Regions from separate parts of the Homo sapiens genome. Here region 1 is linked to region 2. Evidence: promoter capture Hi-C in 16 types of primary human blood cells and fetal thymus (Javierre and others, 2016). All regions are on one chromosome and are shown on one strand. The core of a region is centred on a gene start or on the middle of the fragment in contact, and the rest is flanking DNA. Distances in the headings are between cores, read along the strand shown. Region 1 overlaps AKAP8L (A-kinase anchoring protein 8 like). Region 2 holds the start of SYDE1 (synapse defective Rho GTPase activating protein 1).

Region 1 (3,156 bases), core at 68-2,567, 280 kb after region 2:
AACTCCACTCCAGACAGTACAGCCAAGAAGACAGGTCTGCCCGCATCTACCCAGATCATCTCAGTTAAGGGGTATGATATCTTCCCAGGAGGAACAGAATGTCAGCATCTATTTTTCTGAGTTGGAGTTTCACTCTTGGTTGCCCAGGCTGGAGTGCAATGGCGTGATATCGGCTCACTGCAACCTCTACTTCCCGGGTTCAAACAATTCTCCTGCCTCAGCCTTCCGAGTAGCTGGGATTACAAGTGCCCGCCACCAAGCCCGGCTAATTTTTGTATTTTTAGTAAAGATGGGGTTTCACGATGTTGTCCAGGCTGGTCTTGAACTCCTGACCTCAGGTGATCTGCCCACCTTGGCCTCCCAAAGTGCTGGGATTACAGGCGTGAGCCACTGTACCCAGCCGGATGTCAGTATCTCTCATCCCGCCCCCAGCTACCTGCTGATGAGGCTAAGTTCTAGACAAGCATAGCTGAGAGAGAACGGTTCCTATCTTCTACCCAGCCACACGCACGTGGAATGGAGGCTTGACCCTGGGCATGGCACACTAAGAATATAAGGGCTCACATACCCATGGCTTGTTCATAAAGCAGAGGTCCCATGCCAGGAAAGGCAAACCAAGACCGGAGGCTACAGCCTACTGTACCTCCTCCCATGTCTCTCCTAAAGTGGCAGAGTCACTCAGAGAGAGGTACTCCATTGTCTCCATCCCCAGAGCCTTGGCTCAGAGATTCTGCCCACAGTGAGAGCACGGCCTTAAATCAGTAAACTCCCAATCTCAAAGGAACTGACTGACTTCACTGGCAAGAGTGTTGGGAAGTGCAAGACTAGGGCCTCTCTCAAAAACAATGGAGACTAGGGAGGAAAAAAATTAAAAGGACATTGATAGCTTTTTTTTTTCTTTCTGAATATTTATTGGAGTTAAACACTGATAGCTTTGTCCTTTTTTTTTTCCCCCACCACACAGCCATAAAAAAGAAGGACCGGTAGATTTGACAGTGATATTAGCTAACCCATAGGCTAACTAGGTTACCAAAGAGGACAAGGACCAGTGAAATAGCTAAGAACAGACTCCCTGGGTTCAGAATAAATCTCAAACAACCACCTCAAAAACCATCCCTCTTGGGCCTGGCATAGTGGCTGACGCCTGTAATCCCAGCACCTTGTGAGGCTGAGGTGGGTGGCTCATAAGATCAAGAGTTCGAGACCAGCCTGGCCAACATGGTGAAACCCCGTCTCTACTAACAATACAAAAATTAGCCGGGCGTGGTAGCACATGCCTGTAATCCCAGCTACTCGGGAGGCTGAGGCAGGAGAATTGCTTGAACCTGAGAGGTGGAGGTTGCAGCAAGCCAAGATCGCGCCACTGCATTCCAGCCTGGGCAACAGAGCAAGACTCTTGTCTGGGAGAGGGGGCGGGGAGGGGAGGGGAAAAAAATCCCTATAAAGGAGCCCAAATTTAATTGGATCAGATTGGGCAGCAATCTATGCCCCAAAACATTGTTGAAAACAATAAAGCAATCAGCCAGCAATTGGTAGAGTTTAACAGCTGAGTATGGTCTGGGAAAAAGAGCGAGCCCATGGCTTCCTCCCTCCAAGACACACCACCAGTTTCATACTGTGTGAGAATGAAAGAGACCTAACTAAAAAAATCTAGCAAGTCACTAAACAAATAGACAAGCAAATACAGTAACAAGACCCTGGGAGGGTGGGTGGGGGATCAGTGCCCAGAGTTGCCACAACAAATTATCTAAGATGTCTAGTTAACAGTGAAAAATTATGAGACATCCAAAGGAAACTCTGACCCAGGCACAGATGAAAAAGCAGACAATAGAAACTTCCTGTGACAGTGAACAGATGTCAAATTCAACAAACATTTTAAAGTAGCAATTGTAAATAGGTTTAAAGAAAACTCAAGTAGAAGAAGGTATAATGACACTGTCTCATGAAACAATTTAAACACAGAGATAGAAATGATAATAATAAAATGGTAAATCTTAGAGCTGAAAAGTACAATAACGGACACCAAAAATCCATTTGAAGGACTCAACAGATTTGAACTTAAGAATTAGTGAACTTGGGCCGGGTGCGGTGGCTCACGCCTGTAATCCCAGCACTTTGGGAGGCCGAGGCGGGCAGATCATGAGGTCAGGAGATCGAGACCATCCTGGCTAACATGGTGAAACCCCGTCTCTACTAAAAATACAAAAAAATTAGCCGGGCGTGGTGGCGGGCGCCTGTAGTCCCAGCTACTCCGGAGGCTGAGGCAGGAGAATGGCATGAACCTGGGAGGCGGAGCTTGCAGTGAGCCGAGATCGCGCCACTGCACTCCAGCCTGGGCGACAGAGCTAGACTCCATCTCTAAAAAAGAGTGAACTTGGCCGAGCTCGGTGGCTCACGCCTATAATCCCAGCACTTAGGGAGGCCGAGGCAGGCGGATCACAAGGTCAAGAGATGGAGACCATCTTGGCTAACACGGTGAAACCCCATCTCTACTAAAAAAAAAAAAAAATACAAAAAATTAGCCGGGCGTGGTGGTGGGCGCCTATAGTCCCCAGCTACTTGGGAGGCTGAGGCAGGAGAATGGCATGAACCCAGGAGGCGGAGCTTGCAGTGTGCAGAGATGGCGCCACTGCACTCCAGCCTAGGCAACAGAGCGAGACTCCATCACAAAAAAAAAAGAAAAAAAAAAAAAAAGAATTAGTGAACTTGTGTATCAAAAGAGATTATACAATCTGCAGAACAGAGGGAAAAAAATGAGGTAAAATGAACAGTCTCAGACAACCATGGCACACTATTAAGTGATCCAACATACGGGTAATGAGCATTAGAAGAGGAAAGAGAGAAAGGAGTAGGAAAACAAAATACTTGAAGAAACAATGGCTGAAAGCTTTGGAAGGTTGATGAAACCTGTAATCTATACATCAAAGCAGCTCAGGCCGGGCGTGGTGGCTCACGCCTGTAATCCCAGCACTTTGGGAGGCCGAGGCGGGCAGATCACGAGGTCAGGAGATCGAGACCATCCTGGCCAAGATGGTGAAACCCCATCTCTACTAAAATACAAAAAATTAGCCGGGCATGGTGGTGTGCACCTGTAATCCCAGCTACTCAGAAGGTAGAGGCAGGGGAATCACTTGAACCTGGGAGGCGGAGGTTGCA
Region 2 (3,069 bases), core at 508-3,007:
TCCCGAGTAGCTGGGATTATAGGCATGCACCACCACCCCCAGCTAATTTTGTGTTTTTAGTAGAGAAGGGGTTTCCCCATGTTGGTCAGGCTGGTCTCGAACTCCCAACCTCAGGTGATCCGCCCGCCTTGGCCTCCCACAGTGCTGGGATTAGAGGCGTGAGCCACCGCACCCAGCCGAGCCCAGGAGTTTGAGACCAGTCTGGGCAACATGATGAGACTCTATCTCTACAAAAAGTAGGGAAATTAGCCAGGTATGGTGACACATGCCTATAGTCCCACTTGCTCGGGAGGCTGAGGCAGGAGCATCACTTGAGCCCAAGAGGCTGAGACTGCAGTGAGCTGTGGTGGTACCACTGCACTCCACCTTGGTCTAGTTTTATATATTTTAGGGAGACATGAGACAGCAATCAATATATGTAAGATGCACATGGGTTTGGTCTGGGAAGGCAGGACAACTCAAAAGTAGGGAGAAGGCTTCCAGGTTATAGGTGGATAAGAGAGAAACAATTGCATTCTTTCGAGTTTCTGACTAGCCTTTCTGAATATGCAATTTACAGAGATAGTCACTTATGCCTTAGTCTGGCTTAGTGAAACAAATAGGTAAGGAAGCGATCAGATATGTGTTTGTCTCATGTGAGCAGAGGGACAATTTTGAGTTCTGCCTGTCCTTCATCCATAAGGAATTTCCTTGTAGGCAAATTGTGGGGGAGGTATGTAGCTTTTTTTTTCTTTTCTTTTCTTCTTTTTTTTTAGACGGCATCTTGCTCTGATGACCAGGCTAGAGTGCAGTGGTGCAATTTTGATTCACTGCAACCTCCACCTCCCGTGTTCAAGCAATTTTCCTGCCTCAGCCTCCCAAATAGCTGGGATTACCAGTGCCCACCCACCATGCCTGGCCAATTTTTTTTCTTTTTCATATTTTTAGTAGAGATGGAGTTTCACCATGTTGGCCAGCCTGGTTTCGAACTCCTGACCTCAAGTGATCCGTCGCCTCAGCCTCCCAAAGTGCTAGGATTACAGGAGTGAGCCACCGCGCCCAGCTAGCTTTTTTAACCTTGTAGCTATCTTACTTAGGAATAGAATGGGAGGCAGGTTTGTCCTACACAGTTACCAGTTTGACTTCTTCCTTTTGGCTCAGTGATTTGGAGGTCTCAAGATTTATTTTCCTTTCACAATCACGACATGGTTGTTTTACATCATTACGTTTGGGGATGGTTTGTCAAACAGCAGTAGTAATTGGAATTTGGAGGTGAGAGAATTGAGTGGGGAAAGAGTGGCATGGGGAGACCAAGGAAGAAGCTTGGGGTGGGGTGGGTAGTGGGGACGGTCATTGAAACGAATGACACTACGGCTTGCACCAGGTTGAAGCAGTACCTGGCAAGGAGAGAGAGGATACGTGGAGGCTGCGATTTGGAGACAGACCCAAGAGAACTTCCTGGATGCCATCACCCAGAGTCCCATCCAGGGAGGGTGGGTGAGGTGGAAGACAAGGGATCGGGCCTGCGCCACGATCGTCACGTCCCATCGAAGCTGGAGCGGATCCGGGCACCCGGAGCCCCCATTCCAACCCCTCCCGGCCCCAGGCAACTACATCTCCCAGCATCGCCCGCTCGGGCCGCGGGAAAGGGGAAAAAAAAAAAAAGTTTGGGCCAAGCATTCCCGGAATGTGCTTCCTGCTGGCGCGGGGCGGGGGGCGGGCGGGGAGGCCCGGGCGGGGCGGGGAGGGCGCGGGGCGGCGCGGCCGGAGCCCGGGGCGCGCACTCGGCTCGGCCCGGCCCGGGCCGCAGCATGGCCGAGCCGCTACTCAGGAAAACCTTCTCCCGCCTGCGGGGCCGGGAGAAACTTCCCCGGAAAAAGTCGGACGCCAAGGAGCGCGGTAAGCGGAGATCGGTGGGGAACAGGGGGCGCCGAGCCCCACCCGGCCTGGGAGCGGGGTCCCAGGGCCCCGAGGACAGACGGTGGGGGGGATCAGGGGGAGCCCCCCGCACCCCGCTGCAGACTGGGGTGCCTCCAGCCAGGGGAGGGTAGGGGTCCTGGAAGGAAGGGGCTGGGAGGGAGGGGGGCGCGGACCGTTATGTGCTGCTGGCCGGGGATGCCAGCGCTGCGGGCTCCTTGGGAGGCCCGGGAGGGGGCCTCGCCCACGACAGGAAATGGGGCCGCGACTGAGGGCCTGGAGGGTGGAGGGGAGGAGGGGCTGGGAGGCCGGGACACTGGGGCCCAGTCGGGCTGGGCAAGGGGCATCGGGAGCCCTGGAGGCGCAGGATGGGAGATGGGAGGCGTACTCCTGCAAAGGAAAGAGAGGGGCGGCCCGTCAATCAGAGTAGCTGCCCCCTCCGCCTCCCACCTACTAACAGTGACGGCAACTGCGCCTGCCTTAGCCCCAGGAAACTGTCCCTTTTATACAGATGGGGAAACTGAGGCACGGAGCAATTGGGTCATGTGCCCAGGGCCATCGACTTAAACAGCTCTTTGGACTATGCTACAAACAGAGACCCTAGAGGGTGGACATCAGAGGTGGCCAGAGGAGGAGTTCAGCAGGGTAGCAAGTAAAAACCTTAGAGAAACAGCTGCGTGGGATAGGGGGACCCAGGAAGGAAGGAGTTAAAGGAGGAAGGCCAGACCATTCCATGGACGTACCCCTTCCCCCCAGGCCTTCCCAAAGATTCCCAATGTTCCCAGGGAAGGGAGAAGGGACAGAGATGCCCAAACACAAACACACACAGGAAACAGCCCAGGACATGAGACAGGAGAGGAGGGAGGGAAGGGGAAGTCCCAAAGCATTGAGCGTGGGGGGTCTGGCCTGGGCTGAGGGACAAGGGCCCATCCCAGGATGGCGACAGAGTTTGGAAGACAGGAGGGAGGGTAAAAGGGGCAGGGGACTGGGAGTGACTGTGCTGCAGGGAATAGAAAACCCAGCTCCTCACTCCTGAGCACGTAGTGCCTGCTGTGGGCTGTATACTTTTCCAAAAGGCTCCTGGAAGCCTCCCTGGACATGGAAATCACATCCCCCCATTTCACAGGAGGATACTGAGCCTCAGAGAGGGAAGCGACTTGCCCAAGGCCACGC

The links. The method cuts DNA at HindIII sites, captures the fragments that hold promoters and counts their contacts. A CHiCAGO score of 5 or more calls a contact.
Region 1: a fragment that was not itself captured here is called in contact with the fragment with the promoter of SYDE1 in region 2 in 1 of 17 cell types (endothelial precursors); the score reaches 5.8 in endothelial precursors.

The regions. Positions count from the first base shown.
Region 1 is chr19:15,386,557-15,389,712 of GRCh38, forward strand. The region is part of intron 12 of AKAP8L (A-kinase anchoring protein 8 like); the gene reads right to left. Among named protein-coding and RNA genes, the nearest start is that of AKAP8, 8.3 kb to the left of the region's middle. The HindIII fragment of the contact is 3,136 bases long and covers 1-2,885 here.
Region 2 is chr19:15,105,644-15,108,712 of GRCh38, forward strand. It overlaps SYDE1 (synapse defective Rho GTPase activating protein 1), which reads left to right and starts at 1,758. Exons shown (of 8, transcript NM_033025.6): 1 at 1,758-1,878. The coding sequence starts at 1,791. The HindIII fragment of the contact is 2,464 bases long and covers 1,300-3,069 here.